Linked DNA regions of Homo sapiens: regions 1, 2, 4 and 5 are each linked to region 3. The links are contacts of gene promoters, found by promoter capture Hi-C in blood cells and fetal thymus (Javierre and others, 2016). All regions are on one chromosome and are shown on one strand. Each heading gives the region's core, a stretch centred on a gene start or on the middle of the fragment in contact. The rest is flanking DNA. Distances are from core to core; before and after follow the strand shown.

Evidence for each region. The method cuts DNA at HindIII sites, captures the fragments that hold promoters and counts their contacts. A CHiCAGO score of 5 or more calls a contact.
Region 1: a contact is called between the fragment with the promoter of CAMK1 here and a fragment that was not itself captured in region 3, in 5 of 17 cell types (monocytes, activated CD4 T cells, neutrophils and 2 more). The highest score is 9.4, in monocytes.
Region 2: a contact is called between the fragment with the promoter of RPUSD3 here and a fragment that was not itself captured in region 3, in 3 of 17 cell types (activated CD4 T cells, total CD8 T cells and naive B cells). The highest score is 6.3, in activated CD4 T cells.
Region 4: the fragment with the promoter of CPNE9 here is called in contact with a fragment that was not itself captured in region 3 in 1 of 17 cell types (monocytes); the score reaches 5.8 in monocytes.
Region 5: the fragment with the promoter of MTMR14 here is called in contact with a fragment that was not itself captured in region 3 in 1 of 17 cell types (neutrophils); the score reaches 5.4 in neutrophils.

What each region holds. Positions count from the first base shown.
Region 1 is chr3:9,768,345-9,771,196 of GRCh38, reverse strand. It overlaps CAMK1 (calcium/calmodulin dependent protein kinase I), which reads left to right and starts at 1,250. Exons shown (of 12, transcript NM_003656.5): 1 at 1,250-1,365. It also overlaps a transcript of OGG1 not described here. RefSeq lists a silencer at 1,300-1,479. The HindIII fragment of the contact is 10,493 bases long and covers 1-2,598 here.
Region 2 is chr3:9,842,624-9,845,595 of GRCh38, reverse strand. RPUSD3 (RNA pseudouridine synthase D3) reads left to right here and starts at 1,588. Exons shown (of 9, transcript NM_173659.5): 1 at 1,588-1,706; 2 at 1,995-2,131. The coding sequence starts at 1,606. RefSeq lists an enhancer at 1,646-1,725. The HindIII fragment of the contact is 7,859 bases long and covers 1-2,972 here.
Region 3 is chr3:10,103,411-10,106,110 of GRCh38, reverse strand. It overlaps FANCD2OS (FANCD2 opposite strand), which reads left to right. Exons shown (of 2, transcript NM_001164839.2): 2 at 1,329-2,174. The coding sequence starts at 1,337. The coding sequence ends at 1,870. Among named protein-coding and RNA genes, the nearest start is that of FANCD2OS, 3.5 kb to the left of the region's middle. The HindIII fragment of the contact is 1,207 bases long and covers 723-1,929 here.
Region 4 is chr3:9,702,521-9,705,409 of GRCh38, reverse strand. CPNE9 (copine family member 9) reads right to left here and starts at 1,577. Exons shown (of 21, transcript NM_153635.3): 1 at 1,346-1,577; 2 at 783-823; 3 at 615-661; 4 at 416-519. The coding sequence starts at 1,413. RefSeq lists an enhancer at 1,028-1,938. The HindIII fragment of the contact is 18,760 bases long and covers 1-2,294 here.
Region 5 is chr3:9,648,140-9,650,839 of GRCh38, reverse strand. It overlaps MTMR14 (myotubularin related protein 14), which reads right to left and starts at 1,335. Exons shown (of 19, transcript NM_001077525.3): 1 at 1,098-1,335. The coding sequence starts at 1,256. RefSeq lists silencers at 1,171-1,270, 1,371-1,480 and enhancers at 1,352-1,521, 808-1,703, 1,511-1,740. The HindIII fragment of the contact is 16,951 bases long and covers 1-2,700 here.

The DNA.
Region 1 (2,852 bases), core at 1-2,500, 330 kb after region 3:
AAAAAGCCAGGTGTGGTGGCACGCACCTGTAGTCCCATCTACATGGGAGGCTGAGGTAGGAAGATGACTTGAGCCCAGGAGTTTGAGGCTGCAGTGGGCCGTGATCATGCCATTGCACTCCAGCCTGGGTGACAGAGCAAGACCCTGTCTTAAAAAAAAAAGAAAAAGAAAAAAAGAAGAAGAGAAAGAAAGAAAAAAGAAAGAAAGAAAGAGAAAAAGGAAATGAGCTGGGCATAAGCACTGTTCTCTCCCCATCACCAGCTGGAACATGCAAGAATTCAGGAGTAGGGAGTGGCACTTGGAGGCCCTTGGAGGTGGAGTGGGGTCCCAAGCAACGTGCCTCCTCCGGCTGCCCCCAGTTCAGCCCCATCCCCAATTCCTGCGAGTTGCTCCCCCCGCCCCCTCTTTCCACTCGGCACCAAATTTCTTCCCAAGGAAGGCCTTGAGCAAACCGACCTTTGGCCTCTTGCCTGCCGTCCTAGTTGCAGGCTCTCTCCCCTAACCTGGACCCCAGCCATCAAACTCTGGAGCCCCGCCAGTCACGTGACACCTCGGTCCTTTTTGGCCTGTTTCCTTCAGGATCCCGATTTAACTTCCTCCTCCCCAATTCCCTCTGCCCCCAATACCTCTAGGCACCACCACCCGCTCTGAGGAGCAAGTGTCTGGGGCTGAAGCCTCAGCTCCATCTTGCAGAGGAACCGGGGCCTCAGTCTTCCCACCTGTCAAGTGGGGCCCACACCCTGCGACCACCTCCACTCTCTTCATTGCCTAGTCTTGCCCGGTCCTTCCCCACTCCCTCACTCCCCCATCCCCCACCAGACTCCCGTGCAGTTCCAGGGCCTGTTTCCCTTCAGGGCACGGAGAAGGGAGACAGAGCCCTAAGGGAGGTCGCAGAACTGGTCTGAAAGAAAATCCACCAGGCCACAGGGTGAGTTTGGCCGGCCTCTAGCTTCAGACAGACGGGGTTCGAATCCTGCTTTGCTTCCGACCACCCGCTGATTTGAAAATCATCTCTCCGGGCCTCAGTTGTCCCCTCTGTGAAATGGACCCCGCTTAAGACCAAGGGCGGGAAGCGTCCAGCAGGAGATCTCTGACCAGAAGCAGGGAGATGGCCTCCACCCGTGCCCCTTCCCCAGCCTTGGAGCGGTGCCTCGCCTCCCAATCCCGGGTCCCTCCGCCGCAGGCTCCACCTCCACTGACATCAGAGCCGCAGGCGGGCGGAGAGAGCCGCCGAGCCGAGCCGAGCCCCAGCTCCAGCAAGAGCGCGGGCGGGTGGCCCAGGCACGCAGCGGTGAGGACCGCGGCCACAGCTCGGCGCCAACCACCGCGGGCCTCCCAGCCAGCCCCGCGGCGGGGCAGCCGCAGGTACAGCCGGGCCCCCCATCCCTGCACCCCTGGGCGCTGCGTGGGGGCGGTGGGAGCCCCTAGCCTCTGGGTATCCTTTCCCAAGGAGTGGCCACTGGGCACTCTCCCGGGCGGGCTGGACCCTGAGGGGCAGGGCTGGGCCTTTCTCCACCTCTGTCCCAGGCCCAGCAGGTGCCAGGCGGGCCTATGGGACACTGAGTGGGTAATAGAGAAGGGGGCCTGTGTGAGCGCCTTCAGCTGGGCCTGACTGGAAGGGCGTGGGCATTTGGAGGTATCCATGGGGTGGGGGGGCTTGCGGAGTGTACTGTCTTAGGACAGGCGTGTGGGTCAGACATGGGTGGAGGATCTGGGAATCTGTGTGTTTTTTGTTCCAGAGGGGTGTCCACGTGTTTTGTGTGCTGGTATTTGGCTCTCAGGGTCTTAAGTCAGAGTTAGGAGGGGGTGTACAATTGTGTACTGAGGATGTTTGGAGTTAGGTGTGTAAGGACTTGGGGTTTGGTTTGGAATACAGGAGCTTCCAGGGGATGGGGTAGAGGAGCTGGAGGGTGTAGGGTACGTCTGGTATATGAGGGTGTGTGTGTGTGTGTCTGGGTGTCATCTTGTGTGGGTGCGGGTGGATGTGTGTTTTGGGGTGTAAGAGGGAGCTGGGTGAGGGATGTTTGGATGGACAGGCAGGTGTTCGGGTGCAGGGCTGTCTGGGGCACTGTGTGGTGTGGACATGTGTGCTGATGTCTGGGAGTACATGTATGATCAGGTGTCACGGGATGTGGATACAAGGCGTACTGGATCTGGGAGGCAGGTGTTTGAGTTCAGGGCTGTGGAGGGGGCTTGGTGTGGCATGTCTGCTACAGGGATGTGTGTGGATCTGTGAGGGTTGTATTTGGTAGGCCTCCATGTGGGTTTCAGACTCTGCCTCTAGAGCTTACACTCGAGTCTCCTTTCCTAGAAGATTCTGCCCCTGGATGGGTGGGCAGGGTCCCCTGGGAAAAAGGTCCTGTTCCAGGAGTGGAATCTCACACCAGAGGCCCTAGTCAGGGCACCTTCTCCTCATTCTCCCTTAGAGAAAAAGAGAGAAGGAAAGTGCTCTCCCTGAGGTCACAAAGCATGCTGGGCTCTGTTTTGGCCTCATCTGTGGATGGGTTGGGAGGCTGTGTTCTCTGAATGGGGCCCATTCTGGCTTCATATTGGAAGTACCAGCCAAGGCCATTCGATGGCCTTTGCCCTCAGCAAGCTTAGCTGGGGGCCCCAGGCCAGGTGTCATTAGGGCCTCTGGAGCCAGCCTCTACCTAACTCCAACCTCAGTCTCCCCATTCTTCATCTGATAAATGGGAGAGAACTCCCACCCTCTCCTGCTGGATGAGACAGACCTCAGCAGAGGAAGGGCCAGGCTGGATAGGGTTAGATGGGGCCAGGAAGGGACAGAGTGAGCAGGACCATTTCTCATGCTCCCGGGACCCAGATGGGGAGTCAGGAGGGAGAGGTCTGGG
Region 2 (2,972 bases), core at 339-2,838, 260 kb after region 3:
AAAAAGCTAGGTATGGTGGTGCACACCTGTAGTCCCAGCTATTCAGGAGACTGAAGTGGGAGGATCGTTTGAGCCTGGGAGGTTGAGGCTGCAGTGAGCTGTGATTGTGCCACTGCACTCCAGCCTGGATGACAGAGCAAGCAAAAAAACACATTAGTGGCCGGGCACAGTGGCTCACGTCTGTAATCCTAGCACTTTGGGAGGCCAAGGCGGGCGGATTGCCTGAGCTCAGGAGTTCGAGACCAGCCTGGGCGACATGGTGAAACCCCGTCACTAAAATACAAAAAATTAGCCGGGTGTGGTGGCGGGCACCGCACCTGTAATTCCAGCTACTCAGGAGGCAAAGGCAGGGGAATCGCTTGAACCCGGGAGGTGGAAGTTGCAGTGAGTCGAGATCGGGCCACTGCACTCTAGCCTGGGTGACAGAGCGAGACTCTGTCTCCAAAAAACAAAAACCAAAACACATTAGGAAAATGTTCACACCAAACTCAAAGTGGAGACTGGGGAGGGAGTGAAAACTGGAAGCACGCAGTAAAGGGGAATTTACTTTTATCCCTTTCATTTCTTAAACAAGAAAAACAGGAAACCTATACATATATATATTGTTTCACAATGACTAATTCTGATGGTAGGAATGTGGGCAGTCATTATATTATTCTTTTTTTTCTGTGTTCTTCTACTTTCTTTTTCTTTTTTCTTTTTTTTTTTTTTTTGAGACGGAGTCTCGCTCGTCGCCCAGGCTGGAGTGCAGTGGCACGATCTCGGCTCACTGCAAACTCCGCCTCCCGGGTTCACGCCATTCTCCTGCCTCAGCCTCCCGAGTAGCTGGGACTACAGGCGCCCGCCACCACGCCCGGCTAATTTTTTTGTATTTTTGGTGGAGACGTGGTTTCACCGTGTTAGCCAGGATGGTCTCGATCTCCTGACTTCGAGGGGCCACAGGACTAGTAGAGCCAAGAGTTGAGGGTCCGGGTGGGGTGATCCGGCCGTCAGAAATGCAAAAGCCTGGAAAGACATCTCCAAAGGCCAATCTCAGGTTGGACAATCGTGAGCTGGGGAAGCTGCAAACACTGTGACCTCCGGAATAACCGCTGGTAATCAGTTACCTCTAACCCTTAGCAGAATTCAGGTCCCTCTACTACTCCTAACCTGGTGGCCTTTCATTAACTCTATGAAGCCAGTTTAGTTCGGGGGAAGGGCAATTATCATTTAGACTACGAACTAATTTCTCCCAAAGTTAGCTTGGCCCAAGCCCAGGAATGACCAAGGACCGTTTAGAGGTTAAAGGCAAGCTGCGGGTTGGTTAGATCAGATCTCTTTCGCTGTCATAATTTTGTAATATAATTTTTGCAAAGGCGGCTTCAGGTTTTTTGCTAAGACAGGTTTTTTGATCAGATCAAATTCTTCTGCTACAGCGCTCTCCCTAAAAGCATAGGAAGGCATTTCTGCATTTCCTTCCTGGGCGGAGGAAAAGCCCCGCCTCCTCAGGCTCTGAGTCCCGCCCGGTCACCATTCCGATTGACACTCCAGCTGACCAATCAGCGCGCTGGCTGGAGCGCGGGTCTGCCCCTCTGGACGCACATGCGCGCTGTCCTGGCTCGGGAGATGGACGGCCGCCGTGTTTTGGGCCGGTTCTGGAGTGGCTGGCGGCGGGGCCTGGGTGTCCGCCCAGTGCCCGAGGACGCAGGCTTTGGCACCGAAGCCCGGTGATTAAGTACCCCCTCTCTCATGCGGGACGGAGGCTAGGGCAGGGGGAAGGCACGTGCGGGATCTGGATCAGGTAGATGTTACCCGAAAACAGCCCCGTTGGCCTCTCTGAGCCTCGGTGCCCTCCGCTGTAGAATGGGACCGGTCGTACCTGAATTTTCGAGGTCAGCCCAGACATTGTGAGGCATTTGTCAGAGGCCGCAGGATTTGGGAAGAGGCGTCCGGAGATAGGAATGGGTGGCACCTCGGGATGGAATGACTCCCATTGCTTCTCCCTCCTTGTCCAGGCATCAGAGGCAACCCCGCGGCTCCTGCCAACGGTCGGGGCCCCTCGGGGACCAGCCCTTCGCGGGGCTGCTGCCAAAAAACCTCAGTCGGGAGGAGCTGGTTGATGCGCTGCGGGCAGCCGTGGTGGACCGGAAAGGTGAGGGGTGAGAGGCACGGCCGCACAAGGACCGGGAGGGGACTGCCTCGGCGTGCAGTTGGGCTCTCCATTGAAGCCACGGGATCAGCCCTGCTTCTGCCTCCCACTAGCAGCATGAGCTGGGACAAGCCACCTAATTTGCACCCTCTCCCCGCTTTTAACCCTACTGCCATGATGCAGTAGGGTTAAGAGTGGGGAGAAGATGCAAATAACTACCGAGCCTTGCACATAGCCGGCGCTCAGTTACGGGAGTTGCTATACTAGATTATTGTTTATTGGCCGCGGTGGCTCACGCCTGTAATCCCGGCACTTTAGGGTGCTGACGCGGGCGGATCACCTGAGGTCAGGAGTTCGAGACTAGCCTGGCCAACATGGTGAAACCCCGTCTCTACTAAAAACACAAAAATTAGCCAGGTGTGGCGGCGTCCGCCTGTAATCCCAGCTACTCGGGAGGCTGAGGCAGGAGAGTCACTTGAACCCGGATAGCAGAGGTTGCAGTGAGCCGACATCGTGCTACTGCGCTCCAGCCTGGGATGACAGAGCAAGACTCAGTCTAAATAAATAAATAAATAAATAATGATTATTTATCGACGGACAAAACACAGGCTTTGGAGTCAGACATACCTAGGCTCTGTGATCAGCTTGCTGTGCGGCTTTAGGAAAATAACTGAATTTCTCTGAACCCCACTCTCTATTCAGTGATTTATTCCTTTTCTCAACTATTTCTTGAACATATGCTATGTTCCAGGCACTGTTCTAGGCAGGCTATACAGTGCTGAAAAAGATAGATATGGTTTCTGCTCTCAGGGGAGAAATGGATTTCTCTCTAACGGGAGAAATG
Region 3 (2,700 bases), core at 77-2,576:
TAACCCAGGGGTCTGCAAGTTGCTCCCTTGTGCTAGAAAATGCAGAGGCCTTTGGGGCCAGGAGATGATCTCAGTAATGAATAGTGAAAGCTAGAGTTGTTTGAAAGGAATAGCATAAGAAATTCTCAAAATAGACAATGCAAGAGGGCTTATATAAATGCAGATTGCTGGGTCCCACGTGGAGTTTGTTCCTGTTGGTCTGAGGTGGGGCCCAAAAATGTGCATTTCTGCAAGTTTCCAAATGATGCTGAAGCTGCTACTACAGGGTTCATACATCGCGAACCTCAAAATATATATATATATATATATATATATATATATATATATATATATATATAATTTTTTTTTTTTTTTTTTTTTTAGATGGAGTCTTGCTCTTTCACCCAGGCTGGAGTGCAGTGGTGCGATCTTGACTCACTGCAACCTCCGCCTCCTGGGTTAAAGCAATTCTCACACCTCAGCCTCCCCACAGAGCTGGGACTACAGGCATGCGCCACCACGCCCGGCTAATTTTTGTATTTTTAGTAGAGACAGGGTTTCACCATGTTGGCCAGGCTGTTCTGGAACTCTGACCTCAAGTGATCCGCCCGCCTCAGCCTCCCAAAGTGCTGGGATTATAGGCATGAGCCACTGTGTCCAGCCACAAATATTTTTAAGACATGACTTTTCTGAGCTTCTTCTAATCTCAAGTAATAAGGTCTCATCATGAAGTCCCAGAAGCTTCTGTCACCTCAGAAGATAAAGACTCTGTCATTAGCAGCTAACAACACAGCATAGGTCCTAACAGTGGACCTATATTCATTTCAGACAAATCCATTGCCTCATCTATAAAATGGGTTAAGACCTACTTCCAAAGGCTTGTGAAAAAGTTTAATATAAAGTTTTAGTACACATAGCAGTTGCCAGATCAATACTTGTAATCATTCCCTACTTCCCTTTATTAGAATTACTAATATCTAGGCTGGGCGAAGTGGGTCACGCCTATAATCCCAGCACTTTGGGAGGCCGAGGCGGTGGATCACCTGAGGTCAGGAGTTGGAGAGCAGCCTGGCCAACATGGCAAAACTCTGTCACTACAAAAAAATACAGTGAGCCAAGATCGCTCCACTGCACTCCAGCCTGAGTGACAGAGCGAGACTCTTGTCTCAAAAAAGAAAAAATAAAATAAAATAAAATAATTACTAATATCCTAACACCTGTTGGAATCTATTCATGGGAACTATAGAACAAGTTTATGTCTATAGTGAGACAGAGATGGGAATTTGAAAGGCCATGCTCTCATGAAAAGCATGTCAGGGAAATTCCATGCTCTGATTTCCCTCCTTTAGGACTGTCAATGGCAGGATACCAGCTCTGGTCACCATGGACCCCACTGGATGAGAGTTTCCAATGGCTGCGGCACACGACACCTACACCTTCCTCCAAGCACCCATTCAAGGCCTCCCCCTGCTTCCCACACACACCGTCCGACCTTGAAGTGCAGCTGTGCTTTCAAGAGGTCACTCTAGTCCTAGACAGCCCATTCCTGGAATCTGGAGTGAGTCCCAAGTTACCCTGCCACACATCAGAGTTGCGCACGATGAACAACAAAGGACTGGTCAGGAAGCCCCAGCCCATCCGCCTCAGTGGAGTAGATTCTGTCTTTGGCAGGGTTATCACAGCTCAGCCACCAAAGTGGACCGGGACTTTCAGAGTTTCAGACAAGTCAGCCTTTTGCAAAATCATTAGCAGGGAGCACCAGTGGCCCATTGGACTGAAGGAGCCTCAGATTCAGATGACAGTCACTATGTGCAAACAGATGCTGCGCTCTATCCTCTTGCTGTATGCAACTTACAAAAAGTGCACCTTTGCCTTGCAGCACTCCAAGTAAAGGGTCCTCATTTGATCCCCATTTACTCACACCATGCCCTTTGGTATGTACCTAAAGCTTACAGAAACCTGTCCATGTAAATGAAACTGTGACATTGTCCCAGCCATCTTGCTTTTGTTTCAAGCAGTGATGATTCAGGAGCCCCTTTCATCCCTTCCCCTCCAAAAAAGGACCAATGATAGAGAACAAGGAAGAACATTCCCATTGTAAGGTTGAACCATTTAGAGTCAAACTAGCATTGACATGTCCATGTGATAACCGTTAAACAAATGATATAAACCAATGAGCCTAGTGTGAACTCACATAAACACCTACAACCACAATGAATTGGGGGGAAAAGGGGTGTAGAGGAGAAAGATGTATGGATTTCTATGTACCAGGGGATGTCAAAAATCTATATATATAGGTCAAGGATTACTTTAAAACCTCCCCCGACCAAAACAATGAAAATAAGAAAAAAACCCTAACCAACCACACCCTAATACCACTAGAGTGTACAAAAGTGGGTAGAAATACTGATATTAAACAATACTTACAGCCTGGCAAGAAAGAACTTGGTAGCAGCACTGAAGCTAGGCTTTCTGGTAGGCTACATGGAACTCATGAGTCTCCATTTTAGCTGAAATGTACTCCTAATGTAATTTTGTAGCATTTTTTTGGTTTTTGGAGACAGGGTTTCATTCTGTCATCACGGCTGGACTACAGTAGCATGGTCTTGGCTCACTGCAGCCTCAAACTCCCAGGCTCAAGTGATCCTCCCGCCTCAGCCTCCTGAGTAGCTGGGACTACAGGTGCGGGCCACCATATCTGGCTAATTTTTGTATTATTAT
Region 4 (2,889 bases), core at 328-2,827, 400 kb after region 3:
AAGGGGTCGGGCACCGAGTCTTGGTGAAAATTTTGGGTGGAGGGATGGGCGGCCGTGGACCCGAATTCAGCTTTGGTCTCCTTTTGGGGAGGAGTCAGGGTGGGCTGAGTAGTCAGACGGTCAAGCCTGGGCCGAGGCCAAGTCAGGGGCTGCTGGGGGCAGGGTTGTGTGGAAGGGGTCGGGCCTGAGGTGGAGCTGCGATAGGAGCAGAGTTGTGGGCGGGGCCAGAGCGGGGGACGGAACTGGACCGCATCTCATAAAAGGGCAGGGCTCAGGCTAGAGGGGGCCATTCAGAATGGGAGGGAGGCCTGCGAGAAGAACCAGGCCGGAGGCGAGGCGGGGGTGGGGCCAGCCAGAATTCCGGGCGGATCCAGGTCGGGGGCGGGCCAAGCCAGAATTCCAGGCGGGGCCTCACACATCGAAGCGCAGATTTTGCTTTTCCTCAAAGAAATAGTCGAGGACGAATTTGCGCACGAAGTCTGGGTTCAGCGTGTTATCAATCACCTCGGTCCGTCCGAACTGGGTAGGGGGGTGGAGGGTCAGCGTGGGACGTGCAGACGGGCAGGGGAATTCCCGGGCGACGCCCTGGGCCGGGAGGGGGCTCTGGGACTCACCTCCCGCCACTCCTGGCTGGCCCGGCTCTGCGTGTAAAGCACCACCACTGCAGGTGGGGGCGGGGAGGGAAGGACGTCAGGTCGGCTCCCACCCCTGGCCCCGACTCCACCCGCCCCTGAGTCGCGCCCAGACCCCAAGTTCCCCCTCCCGGTCCTGGAGCCGCCTACTGGGGTCGGACTTGGAGAAGGTATCAAGGTCTAGCAGGTTCCTAGAGAAAAGCAACAGACAGACAGAGTGGATCATCCTGGAGTCCGCCCGCCTCGAGTCGGCTCTGAGCCGGGCACTGAGGAGAGGCATGGGGCCCGCATCGAACCTCTGTCCCCCATGGCTACCCCCAGCCGGGGTCCGCTCTGTCAGCACTCTGGACAGCACCGGAAATCGCTGTCCAGGAACCATGGCTCTGCGGACTGGACGCGAACGCACCCACACTGTCTCCAAGGGCCCAGGAAAGAGGGCTCGCCCCAGAACTTTGTCCTCCTGGGGCCGAGCTCCTACCGGATATCTGCGACCCACCCCCTGAACCCGCAGGCTGAGCCCTTTTTTCGGGGTGGGGCTGCCCAAGACCCCCCGCTTCTCGATCCCACCAGCTACTCGCCCTGTCATCAGCTGTGATTTTCCAGCCAATTTCGCCTCTCCCCGGGGGTCTAGCCCCTGCCCAGGCTGAGCCCCGCGGCTGGCTGGGGCTGGGGCAGTGCCAGTGCCTAAGCCCTCCCCAGCGCGGCCCGCTCACCGGCAGGACACGGTAATTTCAATCTTGGTGGCCGGGACGCTGCGCTCGGAGGCTCCGCCGAGAGACATGGCTGGTCGGGCGACCAGAGCCGCAGGAGGCTGCGAGACCAGGGCTGCTGGGGCTAGGGGCGACGGCAGCGGCGGGGCCGGCCCATGTGCCGCGGTGTCGGCGGCGGCGGCGGCTGCACTCGCTCCAGCCCTGCGTGCGCTCCAGCCGCTCGCGCCCTGACAGTGGCCGCCGGCGGCAGCGGCTCCAGATGGCAGCACAGCCCCGCCCGGCCCTGCGGGCGGCCCCCGCCCCATTGGAGCAGCCTGGAGCCAGCGGGGAACCTCACCCCGACTCCCAACTCCAACCCACACCTTGGTAGAGTCTGCCCTGCGCAAGTCTCTGGGGTGGAAACCCAAGCCCCCTAGAGTTGTCCATGATGCTGAAACATTTGGGGCACCTGGTGGGCACTGGAATTGTTGCCTCTTACTGAGCCACTCCCTTAGTGTTTCTGTCTTTTCCCACTCCCAGCCTGCCTAGGTCTCTGAATAGGAAAAGTACATCTCTTAGTAGCTGTGTGACCTTGGACAAGTTACTCAACATCTCTGTGGCTCAACCGTGAAAGGCCGTCAGAAAGGCCTTTAACAGCAGCTACTTTAGGTGCTGTAAAATTTTACTGAGATAACCCAAGGAAAACACTTAGCACACAGCAAGTGCTCAGTAAACATTCACTGGTATTTATGATTTGTCCTCTGGGTATTCACAATGATGACAGTAAATGGTGGCTGTTGAGCACCGTGCAAAGCTGTCTGCCCATGCCTTTAACCCTCACGACTTTCATGGCGTTACAGATGCGGACACACTCTCATGACGCAATCTACTGTAGGTTACACTGTAGAAGAGGGTGGTGGTCAGCCAGGCTCTCACCCACCACACATGCACACCAATTGCTATCTCCAAAGCTTCAGAAGCCAGTCCTTCCTCCATAGGCAGGGCTCAAGGTAGGGGATGCAGGTCACCCGTACCAGGACCCTGCTGCCTACAGAACTTGTTAAAGATGAAGATCCTGGTCAGGTACGGTGGCTCATGCCTGTAATCCCAGCACTTTAGGAGGCCAAGGCAGGCAGATCACTTGAGCTCAGGAGTTTGAGACTGGCCTGGCCAACATGGTGAAACCCCATCTCTACTAAATACAAAAATTAGCTGGGGATGGTGGCACGTTCACGTAGCTACTCAGGAGACTGAGGCAGGAGGATCGCTTGAACCCAGGAGGCAGGGGTTGCAGTGAGCCAAGATTGTGCCATTGCACTCCAGCTTGGGTAACAGTGAGACTCCATCTCAAAAAATCTGAAAAAAATGAAGATCCTCCAGCTCCTAATTCCCAGGCAACTTCCTTAGCAACCCTAAGGCTAAAGCTCAGGCAGCCCTGGGAATGTGCACAGCTCATCAGGCTCTCTAGGTGACTAGGACCTGCTTAGGCCCGAGAACCACTACTCTCAACAGTCTTGAGTGTTGTCCCCACTGCAGGGACTACCATGGCTCATGAGTGGAGAGGTATA
Region 5 (2,700 bases), core at 86-2,585, 460 kb after region 3:
CTCCAGCCTAGGCGACAAAGCGAGACTCCTTCTCAAAAGAAAAAAAAAAAAAAAGCAAATTCCAGGATCCCACCCCCAGAAATTCTGACTTGGTAGGACTGGGTGGGACTAAGGAATCTCTGTTTTCACAAAGTATCCCATAAGCACAAATTTTAAAAGTACCCCAGATGATCATTAAACAGGTGGTCCCCAGACTATACTTGGAAAAATTACTTGGCCATTTGGAGAGTGAGGAAGTCCAATCCTTACTGAAGTCTTCCCTGGGTTACTTCAGAGACTACAAGATGCCAACTACAGAATAGCAACTCACGGTAATCTCTGAGGTCAAATCAGAGTTCTGTGGTGCAGGATGGAACAGAATTCCACTGGAAAACTTGGTGCTAAAGCTGCCAAAACCACGTGGGGGAATGAGATGGCAGGGTCGGCAAGATTCCCACCGCACTGCCAGCCAGTGCTTAGGGTGGGGATGGCCTGAGCTGACAGGAAGCCCTCCAGGTCTGGCGATAAGACGACTGGGTGGAAATCCCAAAGGGAGCAAAAAGAGGAACGGAGACCTGCTTTAGATAAAGGAACTGAAAGGGAGTGTGGGTTGTCTTCCTGCTCTATAGGGGAAGGAAAGGGATGGGCCTAAGTCATGCTGAGACCTTATAAGGGGGCAGCACACTGGGTTCACCTCCTGGCTCCATTCTGACCTCTGACCCCGAGGAATCGTCTCCCTATTTTTCTTAGCTTTTTCTTGGGGCTTTTTCCCTGACACAACTCATCCTACGGCACCTGAAGCAGGGAATAGACCTTCCTTAGGTCCTCCTCTCTGATCTTTGAACCTGGCCCCTCAGCTTGATCTCTCACCTCCAGACCCCTTCTCAAACAAGAAGGACCTCTTTGCTGGGCTCATTCTGACCCCAGTTCCTCCTTTTATGGTTGTCAAGACCGACTCTTATACTCCGGATACAGACCCTGGAGAACTCCTCTCTCTCTCTCCTCTTCCTCAGCGGCGAGGTACCACTCCTACCTTTTTCTGACCCCTGGCCTCAGCCTTTCCTCTGTAACTTCCCAAGTTAGGAGCCTTCCCCAGCTCATCGCACCTCCAATCTCACCTTAGAGCCGCCGGTCCCGCTGCCATCCTTGGCCCGGTACTGAGTCCGGGAGAACTCCTCCAGCAGCTCCCCAAGCCCCAGCTCCTGAGGCGGCTGGTTGCCTGAAGAGGCCGAGGACCCCGCCGAGGCAGCGGCGGCGGCGGCCCGAGCGCCGGCCATGGCCCAGCCCCGCGTCCCCTCAGTGTGCCTCAAGCGGGCCCATGGCACCTGCCTGCACCCAACTCCGACACTAGAACCTCCGGAACCGCCTCAGCCACCGCCTTCTACTTCCACTTCCACTTCCGGCCCCGCCCCGTCCCGCCGGATGTTTACTCCGACTCTGGCCAATCGGAGCTCTGGACCCGCGCCCCGCCTACGATTACTGGCCCGCCCCCGGCGCAGAGCGATCCTTCTATCCACCAGGGAGGCCACTGGCTGATACCGCGTGATCCGCCCCAAGGGGTTTCCCCCGGGGAAGCCGGGCTCAACCATTGGGCTGCCGGGGGAGGGGGGTAGCAGGAAGGAACCATTGAAAAGAACCAGAGGAAAAGTGGAATCAACAATTACAGGGAAGCCGAGCGTGGTGGCTCACACCTGTCATCCCAGCACTTTGGGGGGCCGAGGCGGGCGGATCACTTGAGGCCAAGAGTTCGAGACCAGGCTGCCAAAATGGTGAAACCGCATCTCTACTAAAAATAAAAAAATTAGCCGGGCATGGTGACACCCACCTGTAATCCCAACTACTTGGGAGGCTGAGGCAGGAGAATCGCTTGAACCCATGAGGCTGAGGTTGCAATGAGCCGAAATCGAACCACTACACTCCAGCCTGGGTGACAGAGCAATACTCTGTCTTAAGAAAAAAAAAAAATTACAGGGCGAGGAGGAGAGAACGCTTGGAGGCAACAAATTAGTACTAGAAACCATAATGGCAGTGGTTACCAATATTAAAACATTTCAGCCGGCCGCGGTGTCTCACGCCTGTAATCCCAGCACTTTGGTAGGCCGAGGCAGGCGGATTATGAAGTGAGGCATTCGAGACCAGCCTGATCAACGCAGTGAAACCCCGTCTCTACTAAAAATACAAAAATTAGCCGCGCGTGGTGGCAGGTGCCTGTAATCCCAGCTACTCGGGAGGCTGAGGCAGGAGAATTGCTTGAACCCGGGAGGCGGAGAGTGAGCCGAGATCGCGCCACTGCACTCCAGCCTGGGTGACAGAATGAGACTCCGTCTCTAAAACAAAAACAAAAACACAACATTTCATAAAACCCTTTCTCCCCCTGCTGCTCACAACATCCCTGTGAGTACAGTGCATTATATCATCAGCCCTATTTTATTGAGGTAGAAACTGGGAGTCAGGGAGGTGAAGCGACTGCCTTGAAATTCTGTGATGAGAAGCCTCTCATTATTATTATTATTAGAATATTTCAGACATTCGCAAAAGTGGAGACAATAGTATAATGAACCCTCATGTACCCATTAACTGGTTTTGAACAATAATCAACATCTGCTTATCTATCCTGTTTAAGCAGTCCCTTCCCATCCAGGGAATTATTTTAAAGCAAATCCCAGACATCACATTATTTCAGCTGTGAATACTTAAGCATTTATCACAACAGATTTGTAC